Regions from separate parts of the Homo sapiens genome. Here regions 1, 2, 3 and 5 are each linked to region 4. Evidence: promoter capture Hi-C in human tissues and cell types (Jung and others, 2019). All regions are on one chromosome and are shown on one strand. The core of a region is centred on a gene start or on the middle of the fragment in contact, and the rest is flanking DNA. Distances in the headings are between cores, read along the strand shown. Region 1 overlaps EPS15L1 (epidermal growth factor receptor pathway substrate 15 like 1). Region 2 overlaps EPS15L1 (epidermal growth factor receptor pathway substrate 15 like 1). Region 3 holds the start of CYP4F11 (cytochrome P450 family 4 subfamily F member 11). Region 4 holds the start of CIB3 (calcium and integrin binding family member 3). Region 5 overlaps EPS15L1 (epidermal growth factor receptor pathway substrate 15 like 1).

The links. The method cuts DNA at HindIII sites, captures the fragments that hold promoters and counts their contacts. A contact is called where the count stands out against the background at its distance.
Region 1: a contact is called between a fragment that was not itself captured here and the fragment with the promoter of CIB3 in region 4, in 1 of the 25 tissues and cell types used here (spleen).
Region 2: a contact is called between a fragment that was not itself captured here and the fragment with the promoter of CIB3 in region 4, in 2 of the 25 tissues and cell types used here (lymphoblastoid cells and spleen).
Region 3: a contact is called between the fragment with the promoter of CYP4F11 here and the fragment with the promoter of CIB3 in region 4, in 1 of the 25 tissues and cell types used here (adrenal gland).
Region 5: a fragment that was not itself captured here is called in contact with the fragment with the promoter of CIB3 in region 4 in 1 of the 25 tissues and cell types used here (spleen).

Annotation. Positions count from the first base shown.
Region 1 is chr19:16,420,429-16,423,669 of GRCh38, forward strand. It overlaps EPS15L1 (epidermal growth factor receptor pathway substrate 15 like 1), which reads right to left. Exons shown (of 24, transcript NM_001258374.3): 10 at 891-1,048. Among named protein-coding and RNA genes, the nearest start is that of EPS15L1, 50 kb to the right of the region's middle. RefSeq lists enhancers at 1-481, 482-1,085. The HindIII fragment of the contact is 3,343 bases long and covers 306-3,241 here.
Region 2 is chr19:16,372,441-16,375,937 of GRCh38, forward strand. The region is part of intron 22 of EPS15L1 (epidermal growth factor receptor pathway substrate 15 like 1); the gene reads right to left. Among named protein-coding and RNA genes, the nearest start is that of KLF2, 49 kb to the left of the region's middle. RefSeq lists an enhancer at 3,304-3,497. The HindIII fragment of the contact is 3,944 bases long and covers 1-3,462 here.
Region 3 is chr19:15,933,258-15,936,506 of GRCh38, forward strand. CYP4F11 (cytochrome P450 family 4 subfamily F member 11) reads right to left here and starts at 1,272. Exons shown (of 12, transcript NM_021187.4): 1 at 954-1,272. The coding sequence starts at 1,151. The HindIII fragment of the contact is 18,991 bases long and covers 1-3,249 here.
Region 4 is chr19:16,172,005-16,175,550 of GRCh38, forward strand. It overlaps CIB3 (calcium and integrin binding family member 3), which reads right to left and starts at 1,521. Exons shown (of 6, transcript NM_054113.4): 1 at 1,421-1,521; 2 at 1,158-1,192. The coding sequence starts at 1,471. The HindIII fragment of the contact is 31,728 bases long and covers 1-3,546 here.
Region 5 is chr19:16,393,652-16,396,793 of GRCh38, forward strand. It overlaps EPS15L1 (epidermal growth factor receptor pathway substrate 15 like 1), which reads right to left. Exons shown (of 24, transcript NM_001258374.3): 17 at 1,693-1,816; 18 at 300-350. Among named protein-coding and RNA genes, the nearest start is that of KLF2, 70 kb to the left of the region's middle. The HindIII fragment of the contact is 3,745 bases long and covers 1-3,131 here.

The sequences.
Region 1 (3,241 bases), core at 727-3,226, 250 kb after region 4:
ACACTGGATCTGAGGCAGCTGAGACCCACTGTCCCTAGCCAGTTGGAGGCGGCTTGGCCATTTGGGTGATGACTCTGCGACAGCTAGTTCTCAGGCTCCCACCTCACAGTGTGGTCATCTGTGAATTACCACTAAGGACAGTCATTTCCCCCAAGCCACTAAGTAACATCCTGAATTTCACTGCTCTACTTGGAGGTATTTGCCTCTCGAGAATTATCCAGCAATTCTTTCCTTTTGATAGCTCCCAAGTGAAGCCTTCTCTAAGGCCACAAGGCTCTGAGCAACAAGCTCAAAAGTGACTTCAGCCCTGGCCAGTGGCAAGAGGAGTGCCCCAGCCCTATGAAGTCGGCTGTGTCCAGCCCTGGGGGAAAGAGGGGTTGAGGCCGACTCCTCGACTGGGCTCTGAGGCACTGACAGGGTCTCCTTGTGCTCACCCTCCCGCCAGGAGCCAAAGCACTGGCCTTTCCAGAGCAGGGCCTCCTGCCCCCGCCCTCACCCTGCCAGGCCACTCTGCTAGAGGCTCCAAGGCCCTGCTGCCCGCACCTCCCGGAGGCGGCTGTGACAAAGTCCAGGCCTCCTGTTAGAGCCAGCATCACAGCCAGCAAGAATAGGGCCCAGCTGTGTAAGCAAATGGCCTGGGAGCACTTAAGACGGACCAGAGGCCCTTCCTACTGAAAGACAGTGAACTGACCGTCACGGAGCGCGGGCTTCGAGCCTTGGCACGTGCACCTTGCTCAGCCTCTGTCAGGCCAGGGAGAATAAAGGACGCCAGACACAGCGGAAGCCTGTGACAGGCTGGAGGGGGCCCCCTGACCACCACCCTCCACAGTCTTCACCCACAGGCCCCCTGGAGCCACCCACAGCCACAACTGCCACCTGTCCGGCCTTACCATATGTGTGCTAGAAGGTTCTGGGTGAGGCCCGAGTGCATGAAGATCTCCTTCACCTCCTGGCCACTCACGTAGCCATCCAGGTCCAGGTCGGTCTTCAGGAATATCTCATCAAATCGCATCTTGTCTGCCACGGGCACCACCCAGTTCACTGTTGGCTGAAACAGTTTTTGGCAAAACAGTTAATCTGGAAGCTTTTTATGACCCCCAGACACATGCTTTTTGATGATGGGGCGATTAAAGCACTTCCATGCACATTTGGCATCAAACTCTCCTCACTTCCATGAGCCAAGAGGGCAGATGTGATCCTTGTTCTGTAACTGGCAAAACTGAGGCTGAGACAGGTTGAGGCTGGCTCTGTGAAGCTCACCCAGATGCCAGTCTGCACCTCTCTCCACCCCATCACCCGCTCTCCTTGTCCATCCACCCTGCCACCCAGGGTGTGAGGGAGGCTGTGATCTTCAGGGGATGGGTTCAAGCATGCCAGGAAAGACCCTCCCGAGCACCCACTTGGAAGGACCGTCCCTGGAGAACCGGCCCGGCCACATGCCAGCCTCCCTGGTCCTCCCACTCCTCAGCCCGCAAAGGCTGCCCTACAGGCAGCCAAAGTGTCCTGTCCCAGGACTCTGAAGACCACCCTTCTATGTCCCTGCCCCACTCCTGAGACAACAAAGATACCCCCAAGGTGTGAGTACACACACGTCACTGACAGGTAACAAATGAGACACCACCATCCAAGAGGGCCACCACCCACGAGGCCCCACCAACATTCATGCAGCCCCAACCCCACCAGGGCAGATGGAGCCACGAGCCCAGTGCAGCTCAAAGTTCACAGCCCTGGGGCTGGGTCACCCGCTGCACGTGCGACCCCTCTCGCCACCAGCTCACAGTTAACTTGAGAGAGGCAAACGCCATCATGGGTCAACCAGGGCCCGGTCACCTCCTGGTTCAGAGGCATTGAGGCCCCTCAGGCACTCAGGGGCAGGCCCCTTCCGTGGCCTACTCCACCTGCATTACCGCGGGCCTTCAATACACCCACCACGCCACAGTTCACGGCATCTGTGTCCTGAACTCTAGACGTGCTTTTCCTCTTCCCTTTTTTTTTAAATATTTACACAAATCACTCCTTTTAAACAATCTCATAATAGCAATGAGAATAAACACCTGATTGAATTATCTAGATGATGAGGGAGTGGAGAGAAAAAGGACAGGCAAATGTGGCTGGAGGGATCGATTGTTCCTTCTCCACGCAGCAACTGTACAGAAAAGCCACTCCACTCCTCACCTTCAATGAACGCCATGATGCCTGAAACTGCCACTCAAAGTCATTCCTCTCAGTTATGAAAGGATTTCTTAGGCTGGGTGCAGTGGCTCACACCTATAATCCCAGCACTTTGGGAGGCTGAGGTGGGTGGATCACCTGAGGCCAGGAGTTTGAGACCAGATTGGCCAACATGGTGAAACCCCCTCTCTACTAAAAACACGAAAAATTAGCCAGGTGTGGTGGTAGGCACCTGTGATCCCAGCTACTCAGGAGGCTGAGGCAGGAGAATTGCTTGAACCTGGGAGGCAGAAGTTGCAGGGAGCTGAGATTGTGCCACTGCACTCCAGCCTGGGCGACAGAGCAAGACTCCGTCTCGGGGAAAAAAAAAGGGGGGGGGGATTTCTCAAAGAGTTCTCACAGTGTTGACAACCCGAAGATGTCCATAGGATTGAGGAGAAGGGACTCATGGTCAAGACTGGGAAACAATGGTTAAACTCGTTTACTCTTCATGAACGAGTCTCCTGTGATGTCCAAATCTAACAGGCTCCTGATACCAACTCAGGGAAATCAGAAAGCAAGCTTGGGAAACAAGGGATACCATGTGACCCAGATCAGCTTAGTTCAGGGGTTTCACGTAGCAAGTATGTGTGATGAAGTACAGCAAGGACTTGATCAAACAATTTATCAAAATCCATGGAGCTAGGCCAGGCACAGTGCTCATGCCTGTAATCTCAGCACTTTGGGAGGCCAAGGCAGGAGGATCCCTCAAGCCCAGGAGTTCAAGACCAGCCAGCATAACACAGCAAGACCCCATCTCTACAAAATAAATAAATAAATAAAATTAGCTAGGTGTGGTGGCATCCACCTATTCCAGCTACTAGGGAGGCTGAGGTGGAAGGATCACTTGAGCCCAGGAGGTTGAGATAGCAATGAGCCGTGATTGCACCACTGCACTCCAGCCAGGGCAGCAGAGCAAGATCCTGTCTCTTATATATTTAAAAAAAAAAAATCTATGGATCTAATTCAAATGATGAGAGTTCAGATGGCAAGAGCAACCTGATTTTTACTTGTGGCATTGTACTGTGTA
Region 2 (3,497 bases), core at 241-2,740, 200 kb after region 4:
CAGACCCAAACTCACATTTGGTCCTGTATGAGCGATGACCCACAGAGGACGCTGGAGCCCTCTTTGAAGTTCAACTCCCTGCACGCTTTTTTTAACGGAAAAGATTTCCACTAAACTGTGACCTCACAGGGAGAAAAGGGCCCAATTAATGACTCCCAGAATGTGTGCAGCCACCTCAGCTGCCCAGCCTGTCTTTCCTGGAAAAGGTGCCCATATGGCAGAAGCCTGCGTCCCGGTCCCTGTGCCGCAGGGTGGGGATGGGGGCTACAGACCACATACAGCACGTCACCGTGCAAGGCGCTTCACCCACACACCCACCTGCTAGGCCTGAGTGGGTCCCATGGTCAGGCAGGAAAACTGAGGCTCAGGGAGGTTAAGTGACCCACCCGGGGCCTCCCTTTCCTCCAATGTCCAGAAACCAGCCTGATCAAGCAGTCCCCTGGATTCTAGCAGAATTGGCTGCCCAGAGGACAGAAGGAAGCGGCCTCAGTTCTCCTGTCCTGGCCTCACACATCAGCCATTTCCTGGCACAGAGGCCTAGCAGGGTTCTAGAAACCTCTGGGTGCCCTGGGATGGACAAACCCTGGATGGGAGCATGGGACATCAGACATGTTCCATGTGCCAGGCGGAGAGATGACAGAAAAGCTTGTTCCTTCATTGTGATTTCCATGAGTGCAGGTGTCAACGCTGTGTGCATGTTTAAGACTGCCCACTGGACAGCCTATGGGTCCTTCAGACTTTTTGTCAGTCTGTCTATCTCCACCAGCTCAAGGCTCGACCGCCAGGCTCACAGGGGGTCGCATTTCACCTTCCTCCTCACTCAGCCACGCTGGGACCCACGCATCTCGCGCAAAGCCCCAGCATCTGGGAAGCCCTGGGGTGGCCAGGGGAAGGCGGCCGTCACTGTGTGCTGGCCGTGTGGTCTCCCTGAGCAGAAAAAGCCTGGGGTAGCAAGAAAGGCAGAAAGGCTTTTTTTGGTTTGTTTGTTTGTTTTAAGAAAACATAAAGTCCAGCAGTTTGAAAACGTTGGACTTTATGCTTAAAAAAAAAAAAAAAAATTCACAGATTAGCTTCACTATCTTCTGTCTTAAAGAAGCCAAGAAAACAAGAGATCTGCCTTGTGTCTTCCTGGCGAACTTTCTGAGCACGACTTCACCCGACACTCATCTGCTGACCGCTCTTGCCCATAACCAGAGGCCTCCTGGGCTGCACGTGGGTCTGTGCCGTGTGGCCAGGAACCGGGAAGGGAATTGTACAGAGCCCGGCTCTGATTCCCTTGACCAGAGAGCAAGGGTAGGGCAAGCATCTTCCTTTGCAATTCCCCAAAGAGCCAAACACTTCTCCCCAACATGTGACTCACCAAAGGTCAACCACTGGGTCAACTCAGTGTTTGGACTGTTAGAGGTTAGTACGGAATCACAGCACAAATAATGCTGCAAGCTCAAACGGCAACCACCACACGGTCTGTACCTACCACCCAGCAGCGAGTACAATGCAGAATTTTTCTGTTCAGCCATTGCTTCTGGGTAAAAGAATCAAATGAGAAATATTTAGGCCTCCACACAGATCTGCAGTTGCTCCGGACTTAAAATGCTGCGCGTGCATTGGCTGTTTTAGAGAATGTTCTGAAGCTCATGGCTTGGTTCTCGTTACTCCTGTCTTGGGGCAGGAGGCAGGTCACTGGGTGTAGACCTGGCCCTGCTGCCACCTTGCTGTGTGACCTTGGGGAGCCCCCATGACCTCCCTCCCCGCCTTTCCTCTTCCAGGAAATGGGCATGGCCTGGCCTGTCTCCCTCACGGGTCTTGCTGGGACCTAGTGAGATAAGAACTGTTCAAGCACTTCCTAAGGGCCCATCAATGTTAATATATTTCTGCAGAGCACCGAGTGGCACAGCAACCATCAACCACAGCAGAACAAAGATGCAGTGGCCTGTGCCACGAGTAAAGGAGCCCAGGACCCCCTGGGTCTCAAATTGTGCAACAGCTCCCTAAAAAGCCTGAACCCTGAAGCCAGGCCCAAGGAAGTCACCCAAACTCCCGTTATCAAACGTTCTACTTTTAACAAGCATTCTTTTCTGCTTTCGAAGCCCACAGTACACTAACAGCAGAAGCCAAGGTGGGGTGGGTAGGCTTGCAGAGGGAGACACGATGGGAGGTGATAACTGAGGGAAAGTTCAAAAGCAGACCCAGCGCCGGGTTTAGGTACGTGGGGAGGCGGGGGTGGCGGTTTCCATGAAACACTGAAAATGAAGCTTTGCACCTGTGAGCTGTTGAGTGGGATGGCTCCTCCTCAGGGCCCAGCAAATACGGCACTGCTCGGCAAGTGTGTGCACCCATATGAGAATACGTGCACATGTGTGTAAATGTGTGTACACGTATGTAAGCACAGAGTGTGCATGCCCGGGTGTGTATGAGCACACACGCACGCATATGTGTGTGCACGTTTGCATGCATGCATTATGCAATATCTGTGTAATGCTCACCTGTATTCATGTATATGTTCACATGTGAATATGTGCATGTCTCAATGAATGCATGCACATATATAAGCATGGAGGGTGTGCATGCCCAGCTGTTATCTATGAGAGCATGTGTGTGTGCAGGCATGCACAATGCAGTATGTGAGTGCATGCTGCTCATCTCTATGCATGCATGTGTGTACTGACAAGAGAATATGCACACATGTCCACAGATGCATATAAGCATGGAGAGTGTGCACGGAGGGGTGCATGGGAGAGTGCGTGTGTGCCTGCATATGCGTACATGCAGGCACATGCGAGAATACTCATGTGATGCAGTATGTATGTGAATGCATGCTCACCTGTATGCATGTGTGTTCATGTGCAAACAGGTGCATGCATGCATGTGTCTGCAGGCGTGGAGGATGTGTGTACACAGGGTACACATGTGCATGCAAGAGCATACACGTGTACGTGCACATACATGCATAAAAATACATGGCCGCACGTGGGAATGTGCACATGCATGTGTGCCAGCTGTGTGCATGCATTGTGATTATGCATATATGTGTGTGTGTGTGTGTGTGTGTGTGTGCTTCTGCTCCCATCTTTTAGGCAGAGTGAAGAGGCCCACTGCCGTTCCATCAGGAAGCCAACAAGGATCCCTGAAGAGCCACTGCCTCTGTGTAAGGCACAGGTGGCCTCTTGCAGATGGAAGGGAGTCCCTTTGTTGTTTTGTTTTTCCTCCTGATGGTAAATGTCTTTGATGTGTGGCTTACAGAAATGATCTCTTTACGCATCTGTATCTGCTCAACAGTTCACAGAAAATCTGCTCTAAATCCACACAGCCCATACTTGGTCATACTTTTTCTCCTGACTCATCCACAAGAAAGCCAACCTGGGCACTGCGGGCTGGGTCCCCATCCTCCTGAGAGAAGGCCATGGCCAGCCCAGGGGACAGGAGGAGAGAGGCGGTGTTCTAAAAATAACTTCCCCTATGTTCACCTCTACTGACAGGTGGCCGAGGTGCAGGACCGA
Region 3 (3,249 bases), core at 22-2,521, 240 kb before region 4:
GAGCGAGGAGAGGAATGAGTGAGTGAGGAGAGGAATGAGTGAGTGAGGAGAGGAATGAGTGAGTGAGGAGAAGAATGAGTGAGTGAGGAGAAGAATGAGTGAGTGAGGAGAGGAATGAGTGAGTGAGGAGAGGAATGAGTGAGTGAGGAGAGGAATGAGTGAGTGAGGAGAAGAATGAGTGAGTGAGGAGAGGAATGAGTGAGTGAGGAGAAGAATGAGTGAGTGAGGAGAGGAATGAGTGAGTGAGGAGAAGAATGAGTGAGTGAGGAGAGGAATGAGTGAGTGAGGAGAAGAATGAGTGAGTGAGGAGAGGAATGAGTGAGTGAGGAGAAGAATGAGTGAGTGAGGAGAAGAATGAGTGAGTGAGGAGAGGAATGAGTGAGTGAGGAGAAGAATGAGTGAGTGAGGAGAGGAATGAGTGAGTGAGGAGAAGAATGAGTGAGTGAGGAGAAGAATGAGTGAGTGAGGAGAGGAATGAGTGAGTGAGGAGAAGAATGAGTGAGTGAGGAGAGGAATGAGTGAGTGAGCAGAGGAATGAGTGAGTGAGGAGAAGAATGAGTGAGTGAGGAGAAGAATGAGTGAGTGAGGAGAGGAATGAGTGAGTGAGCAGAGGAATGAGTGAGCGAGAAGAGGAATGAGTGAGTGGGCAGAGGAATGAGTGAGCGGGGAGAGGAATGAGTGAGCGGGGAGAGGAATGAGTGAGCGGGGAGAGGAATGAGTGAGCGGGGAGAGGAATGAGTGAGTGGGCAGAGGAATGAGTGAGTGGGCAGAGGAATGAGTGAGCGGGGAGAGGAATGAGTGAGTGGGCAGAGGAATGAGTGAGCTGCCTCCCTCTCTTCTCTGTGTTCCCACACCCCAGCCACCCTCAAAACCCAGCTCCCTGAGCCCCATTCCTGCCCCTCAGGAACTCCATGCATCCTGAGACCCCAGACCCGTCCTGCTGACAAACTCACCAGGCCCTGGTGTCCCCAAAACCAGTTCTGTTTCGGGGGTTGAGGAAAACACTGGAGGCGGCGGCAGTTGTCATAGAAGGTGTAGGTCCAGGCCAGGACGCGGGCCAGGAGCCAGGAGCCTCCAACCAGCAGCAGAAGCAGCCACGGGGATGCTGCCACGGGCCCGAGGCCCAGCCAGGACAGGCTCAGCTGCGGCATCCTGCAGGGCAGACGGGATGGAGGGTGGGATCCTGAGGCCCAGGGAAGGGCCCAGGAAGCTCCAAGGACAGTGGAAAGGGGCAAGGATGGGCAGTGCTGGAGGCAGATCAGGGAAGGCTCTGAGATGGGTAAACAAGAGCTGAGATCTAAAGTCCAGAAATGCCCAATGAAAACCAGCAGCCAAGTGGCCTCCAGTTACACAGAAAGGGAAAGAGAGAGAGAGGCTGATTAGAATCCAAAAAGGCCCAGCCTGAATCACTGGGAGGTTGCCAGGGGTCCAGTTACCAGGAAATCACCAGTCTCCCAGGCCAGCAGCCTTGACCCACCCCAACCTTGGGCAGTCCCCTCCCCATCCCAGGCCAGGACCCTCCAGCCCTGCCACTGCCAGCCTGGCTCCTATCAGAAGCAGCTTGTCCCACATACCCTCCTCTCCCCCTCTGCTAGGAGGTCTTTGCCTCTGGCCCCTGATTTCCGGAAGGCTGTGGGAGGCGAGGCTGGGCTGGGCTGGTCGAGCCAATCCCCATGGACTGGGTGTGTCTTCCAAGCCTGGGCAACCAACCAAAACCTGGCGTAGGGCCAGCTGGGTGCAGAGGAGCCAGCTCAGGGTGACACAGCATGGGCACAGGATCCGCAGGTCTCAACATCTCACACCTGAGTGGGAGGGGATCTTGAGGAAGAGTCAAAGGTGACTCTGAGCCCCAAAGTTTACAGCCACCTTGCCCTTCCAAGGCAAGAGTGTGGCAGATAAAGTCATGAACTTGAGAGTTCAGGTGGCAAGAGAGTGGGGCCAGGCCAACCATTGTGCCAGATCATGTTCTGAGCTCCTCTCCACATGTGGTCCAGGAGTTCATCATGCACCATTTCTCAGTGCAGACTTAGGAGATTCAGAGACAGAAGCTCCTGGCCTCTGGCTTCACAGTCTGGCAGGAGTTCAAGTCCTGCCTCCAGGCAACCCAGGGCCTGGGTCGAGACATGACTGACAGGAGTAGGAACAAACTATCTAACTGTGCTGGGGATTACCCGGTCAGATTTTAGAGATAAAGAGCCCCGCTGGAGGAGAATACCTGGAGGCTAGGTTCAGCATAGGAGGACAGAGAGGGGAGATGGGAGGTAAGGCTGAGAGGGGCCATGAGTGGATGGGGCCAGGGACAGGAGGGCAGAGATGGGGGACCCTGAGTGGAGTCCTTATTCTGCCCTCCCCTTGCCCTAACTGTGGGTAGTGAGCCCCTCCTGGACTCAGGCTTCCCATCTGGGAAATGGGATGTCAGATAAGGCCTTAGAGGGGGACAGAGGAGGGATCACAGGAAAATGGGCCTTAGATGGGGACAGATGAAAGATTCTGAGGAGGGAGTGAAGGGAAGGGGCTGGCAGCTAGCACTTTAGCTGCTGTGTGTCAGTCTCTGCTCTTTGCAAAAGACAATATGCAAAGTTCTTTTACTGTGTACTGGACTCTAAATAAAGCACACCTACCATGTGCCAGGTACTCTGTATACATGTTGTGTACTGTGTGCCAAGTGCTCTATGAAAAGTGTGTCCACTGTGTGCTGGGCGCTCTACAGAAAATCTTGCTTCTTTGTTCTCGGTCCTCTATATAAAGTGAAATTTGTGCGGAGTAACTTATGTAAAGTGTACCTACTCTGCACCTGCTGCTCTATATAAAACACACCTACTGTGTGTCAGATGTTCTATGTAGAGCATGTTTACTACGTGCCTGGTGATCTATGTCAAGTGCACCTACTGTGTGTCAAGTGCTCTACATAAAGCGTGCCTACTCTGGGTGCTGGGTACTCTTCATAAACTGTGACTCCATGTGTCCGGTACTCTACATAAAGCACACCTACTGTATGCCAGATGCTCTACATAAAGTGTTCTTTCTGTGTGTCAAGTGCTCTACATAAAGCGTGCCTACTCTGGATGCTGGGTACTCTTCATAAACTCTGACTCTGTGTGGCCGGTACTCTACATAATGCACACCTACTGTGTGCCAGATGCTCTATATAAAGTGTTTTTTCTGTGTGTCAAGTGCTCCACATAAAGTAAAACTACTCTATGTAAAGTTCTTGACATAAAGAATGCCTACTGTGTGCAAGGCACTCTC
Region 4 (3,546 bases), core at 271-2,770:
CCATCGTGCTGGGTCACGCCAGGGACCTGCAGCAGCCTTGGGCCACCTCCTCACACCCTCATCTTAATGCCAAGCCCACAACCCAGACTGGGCTCTGGACTTTGCACCTGGGCTCCCAGCCTCAAGTCCCAGTCTCAGGAGAATCTTTATCTTTCATTTTGTTTTTCTGAGGCAGAGTCTAGCTCTGTCACCCAGGCTGGAGCACAGTGGCGTGATCTCGGCTCACTGCAACCTCCACCTCCCAGGTTCAAGCAATTCTCCTGCCTCAGCCTCTTGAGTAGCTGGGATTACAGGCACCCACCACCTCGCCCAGCTGATTTTTGTATTATTAGCAGAGATGGGGTTTCACCATGTTGGCCAGGCTGATCTTAAACTCCTGACCTCAGGTGATCCACCCACCTTGTCCTCCCAAAGTGCTGGGATTACAGGCATGAGCCACCGCGCCCAGCCTCAGGAGAATCTTTCTAACGTGCTGATGGTCTCTCCCCTGCTCATGCATGCTCCATAGCTCCCTGCCACCCTTGGGAGAAAGCCCAAGCTCATCAGCCTAGAGACTGGGACAGTATGACAAGATGTGACTTGTCAGCTTCTCCATCTCTGCCTCTGTCCACTGACCACACCTGCCCCCCTTCCCCATTTGAGTCCCAACAAATTGGAAATACCAGTTGGGCATGGTGGCTCACACCTGTAATCCCAGCACTTTGGGAGGCTGAGGCAGGGGGATCGCTTGAGCCCAAGGGTTTAAGACCAGCCTGGGCAACATAGTGAGAGCCCCATCTCTATAAAAAAATACAAAAATGAGGTACATGTGGTGGCTCGCACCAGTGGTCCTAGCTACTCGAGAGGCTGAGGTGGGAGGATCACCTGACCTTGGGAGATCGAGCCTGCAATGAGCCATGATTGCACCACTGCACTCCAGCCCAGGCAATAGAGACAGACCCTGTCTCAAAAAAAAAGAAAAGAAGGAAGGAAGGAAGGAAGGGAGGGAGGGAGGGAGAGAGAGAGAGAAAAGAGAAAGAAAGAAAGAAAGACTACTTACACACACACACACACACACACACACACACACACACACACACACCAAATTGCAAATATCCTCCAGCAATGAATAGAAAGTTGTTTTTCCAGATCTTCTCTCCCTTCCTCCCTGGACTGACCTCATGATCTCCTTCCTTGTGAAAAATGTGCAGTCCTGTGGAGAGAGGTGTTGTCTTAACCCGAACCCTGCCTCTGGGGCCTCCTCCCACGGCCTCCTCCCTCCACCCCACACTCACACAGATGGCCTGATGCTGCCACACACAGAGCAGAACCAGGAACCCAGGCGGACGGTACACCCAGATGAAGGCATTCTGTTCCCATTTCCCAGACCACGGAACCAAAGTTGTCAAACCCACTGAGGACCCATCCTGCCCCCCTCTACCTGATACGCTTCCAGCTGCTCGTGTGTGAAGACTGTCTGCTTGTTGCCCATGGTGTGAACCACAGCCCAGACTTGGGGATGCACCCCAAAGGCTCCCAGCTTCCTCGGGGCCACACGGGTTGCCAGGCTGTTGTGTACCAGTGTCTGGGCAAATCTCCCTGCCCTGGCTGTCACCCACCCACCTACGCCATCACCCCCTGCTTGATGAGACTCAAATTACAGCCAGGCTCTCTGGACAACAGCCTGAATGTGTCCATGGGTAAGGATAAGGGCTGTGGGATGTCACAGAGAAGACCTCAGTGGGGAGGCCACATCTGCCACCACAAGGTGAGGCTGGGGTTATGGGGCACACTCAAGAGACAGGCAGGGTATACAGAAGGGCTATGGGCACACTGCAGCTCAAATCCCAGCTCTCTGCCCACTAGCTGTGTGGCCCTGGGCAAGTCACCTGACTTCTCTGAACCTCATTCATGAGATGAAAATTACATTATACCTACCTCATAGGGTCATTCTCAGGATCTGAGATTTAAAAAAAAAAAAAAAAGGTTTTGACTGGGCAAGGTGGCTCACACCTGTAATCCCAGCACTTTGGGAGGGCCAGGCAGGCGGATCACCTGAGGTCAGGAGTTCAAGACCAGCCTGGCCAACACGGCAAAACCCCATCTCTACTAAAAATACAAAAATTAGCTTGGCATTGTGACACATGCCTGTAATCCCAGCTACTCCAGAGACTGAGGCAGGAGAATTGCTTGAACCCAGGAGGTGGAGGTTGCAGTGAGCCGAGATCCCGCCATTGCACTCCAGACTGGGTGACAGAGTAAGACTCCATCTCCAAAAAAAAAAAAAAGGTTTTGGCTGGGCGAGGTGGCTCATACCTGTAATCCCAGCACTTTAGGAGGACAAAGCATGAGATTCACTTGAGGCCAGGAGTTCAAGATCAGCTTGGGCAGCATGGCAAGGCCCTATCTCTACTAAAAATACAAAAATTAGCTGGATGTGGTGGTGCATGCCTGTGGTCCCAGCTACTCAGGAGGCTGAGGTGGGAGGATTGCTTGAGCCCAGGAGTTTGAGGCTGCAGTGAGCCATGATTGCATCACTGCATTGGGAACATAATGGTGAACAAGCTAGATGAAGTTCTGGGGTGTGCATTGACATTATTATTTTATTACATTTTATTTTTTTGAGACAGTCTCACTCTGTTGCCCAGGCTGGAGTGCAGTGGTGTGATCTCGGTTCACTGCAATCTCTGCCTCCCAGGTTCAAGTGATTCTCCTGCCTCAGCATCCCAGGTAGCTGGGACCACAGGTGTCCACCATGCCAAGCTAATTTTTTTTGTATTTTTTTTTTTTGAGACGGAGTCTCGCTCTGTCACCCAGTCTAGGGTGCAGTGGCGTGATCTCGGCTCACTGCAAGCTCCACCTCCCGAGTTCAGGCCATTCTCCTGCCTCAGCCTCCCGAGTAGCTGGGATTATTACAGGCGCCCACCACCACGCCTGGCTAAGTTTTGTATTTTTAGTAGAGACAGAGTTTCACTATGTTGGCCAGGCTGGTCTCGAACTCCTGACCTCAGGTGATCCACCCGCCTCGGCCTCCCAAAGTGCTGGAATTACATGTGTGAGCCACCTCGCCCGGCCCAAAGGGCAGATCTAATGTAGCAGCTACCAACTTTATTAAGGCCCAGAATCCTCTTGGGTGGAGAATCTGAGAGTCTAAATTTCTTAGCCTGGCCCTCCATGCCCTTCTCACTTTGGGTCTCACCTGTGTTTTCTCTACCTGGCCTGGACTATTGCAATGTTTCCCAGCAGGCTTTCCTGCCTCGGCCTCATCAAGCATCCTCTGCCAAATCTGTGCAGTCATCTTGTAAAATGTGACCCTGATCAGGCTTGAAAGATGCCTCAAGGATGACTTTTTTTTTTTTTTGAGACAGGGTCTCACTCTGTCACCCAGGCTGGAGAGCAGTGATACAATCATGGCTCACTGCAGCGACCCTCCTTCCTCAGCCTCCCAGGTAGCTGGCACTAGAGGCACATGCTGCCACATCCGGCTAATTTTTTTTTTTTTGTATTTTTTGTGGAGACAGGGTCTGTCTATGTTGCCCAGGCTGGTCTTGAACACCTGGCCTCAAG
Region 5 (3,142 bases), core at 9-2,508, 220 kb after region 4:
AAAAAAAAAAATAAAAAATAAATAAATAAATAAATAAATAAAATAAATAAATAAATTAGCAAGCAATGTGATCCCACCACACTCCAGGGTGGGGTGCGGGCAGTGACTGGACCTGGGGAGGGGAGCCACCTCCAGAAGGGAACGGGACCGAGAATGGGTACAACATGGATGGACGGCCGTCCTTCCCAGTTACATGGCTGCCATCCCCGGTGTATGTGGACACAAGTCCCACCACATGCGACTTCTGAGCCAGGACTGGACACAGTCTAAAGACCGGTCCGGGAAACACTGAATTTTACCTGTTGAAGTTGTCTGCTGTTCTGCAAAGGGGTCATTCTGGAACGGGTCGCCTGGTTGGAAGAGGAGAGAAATGCTTATTAGCTCTAGGGCACAGGATGCGGGCCGGGCCCTTGGACACAGCCACCCACCTCCCAAGCCTTTCATTGCCTTCTACTCCTCCAGTGTAGGGAGAGAATGTTAGTTCCTTCTCTACTATCCACCTGCCCTCAAAACCTTGGCAAATCAAAGAGGGGGACCTGGAGGAGGCAGCTGTTTCTGGCTAGGATGTTTAAGATGAGAAGGAAGGTACTGCTGGCTGTCCCACACAGACTGGAGTTGGGGAAGACACAGAGTGGGCTAGAATTCACTCCTCTCTTCCCATGCTGGGTTTCCTTTATCCCATCTGCCTGCCAGCTCCCTGGGTAAGAGGACACAGGACCCTGGGCTGTCCCTCACTTTATCACCGGCCCTGCAGCAATGAGGCGGCGGCACCCCTGGGCTTCAGGGGCTGCCAGATTCGCCTCTCAGACCCGGCAGGCTTCAAACCCAAGCTGAAGCTCAAGCTCCCGCTGCCCTCTCCCCACCTCAGTGTTTTTCTCAAAAATGTAGAGAGCCTTCCTCCTGGAAATACTGTTTTGCTCTGAAACATGGACAGAAACTTGGAAATCTTGTTTCTGGAATTCTTAGTTATTCTTGACTCAGGTGTGGCTCTGGACAGACTCCTAAAATTATCCAGACCTTAGGTTTATGTAGGAATCCATGGTTTTCCAGGTACTTTCATGATCATTACTAGCTCTGATTATTTTATCAACCCTGTGAGGTGAGCAAGGAGGAAATTTATTAACCTGCTGAGGGATTAGGAAACTGAAGTACTGAAGGGTTCAAGGGGGCTGGCCAAGCTGCCTTCAAATGTGGGTCTTGTGGTGAGCTTGGAACACTTCCCACTGTATCTTGATGCCTTGGCTCTCTGGTTAACAGGGTGAGATAAGAAGCTTAAAAGGCGTTCCTGCTGGGTGCGGTGCCTCACACCTGTAATCCCAGCACTTTGTGGGGCTGAGGCGGGTGGATTACCTGAGGTCAAGAGTTCGAGACCAGACTGGGCAACACAGTGAAACCCCAACTCTACTAAATATACAAAAATTAGCCGGGTGCGGTGATGGGCGCTGAGGCAGGAGAATTGCTTGAACCCAGGAGGCGGAGGTTGCAGTGAGCCGAGATTGCGCCACTGCATTCCAGCCTGGCTGACAGCAAGAGAGCGAGAGTTCGTCTCCAAAAAAAAAAAAAAAAAAGGCATTCCTTTCCCCCTCCATTTCAGATTGTGGCATGTCCTTACTTTTCTAGTTGAAGAACCACTCTAAATTCGACATAAAACACACAGTCTTTCAATGAGAAAGTGGGTAGCAAGTGAGATACCTTTGAAGGGGTCAGCTCCTTTAAATGGGTCAGATTTGAAGGGGTCTTCTGTCTGGAAAGGATCCGGATGCAACTCTTGCGTGTTGTTGCTAAATAACAAGGCTTTATTTTTGAAAGGATCATCCTACAATTTTGTGAAGAAACAGGACAGGGATTTTATTATTTCTGAGTTAAAGCAAAGTACGGAATTCCATACTTAACTCACATTTCCACTTTGAGTAGCATGACCCTAAAAAGAATGATTTAGCCAGGAGTTCGAGGCTGGCCTGGGCAACATAGCAAAATCCCATCTCTATAAAAACAAAAATTTAAAAATGAGGCCAGGCATGGTGGCTCACGCCTGTAATCCCAGCACTTTGGGAGGCCAAAGCAGGTGGATCACCTGAGGTCAGGAGTTCAAGACCAGCCTGGCCAACATGGTGAAAACCTGTCTCTACTAAAAATACAAAAAATTAGCTGGGTGTTGTGCCGGGCACCTGTAATCCCAGCTACTTGGGAGGCTGAGGCAGGAGAACTGCTTGAACCCAGGAGGTGGAGGTTGCAGTGAGCTGAGATTACGCCATTGCGCTCCAGCCTGGGCGATAGAGTGAGTCTATCTCAAAAAAAAAAAAAAAAAAATCAAGGTGTGGTGGCGTGTACCTATAATCCCAGCTACTTGGGAGGTTGACTCAGGAGATTGCCTGAACCCAGGAGGTGGAGGTTACAGTGAGCTATGATTGTGCCACTGCACTCCAGCCACAACAGTGCAAGACCCTGTATCTTTAAAAAAAAAAATTAATTAAAGATCATTGAAGAAGTATGAACTTGAGTGAATAATAATGTTTAATACTGGTTCATTAGTTGTGACAAATGTACTATATATGATGTGACTAACAGGAGGAACTGGGTGTGGGATATAGAGGAACTATGCACTATCTTTGCAGTTTTTCTTTTTCTGAAACAGGGTCTCACTCTGTTGTCCAGGTTGGAGTGCAGTTGCACACTCATGGGTTACTCCAGCCTTGACCATCTGGGCTCAAGTGATCCTCCCACGTCGGTCTCCCGAGTAGCCAGGACTATAGGCGCGCACCACCAAGCCTGGCTAATTTTTATATTTTTTGTAGAAATGAAGTCTCTCACTATGTTGCCAGGGCTGGTTTTGAACTCCTGAGCTCAACTGATCCTCCCACCTCAGCCTCCCAACGTACTGGGATTATAGGCATGAGCTACCGCACCTGGCCTATCTTTGCAATTTTTTCATAAATCTAAAAACTATTCTAAAATAAAAGTTCATTAAAAAATCATTGAGTGGAAGCAACTCAAATGTCCATCGATGAATGAATGGATAAACGGAAAAACAAAATTTTTTTCTAAGTCAGAAAAAAATAATGAATTTGAAATGTCATCAAGAAAATTGTAACGAGCCACACAACAGAATCTGATTCAGCCTTCAAAAGGAAGCAAATTCTGA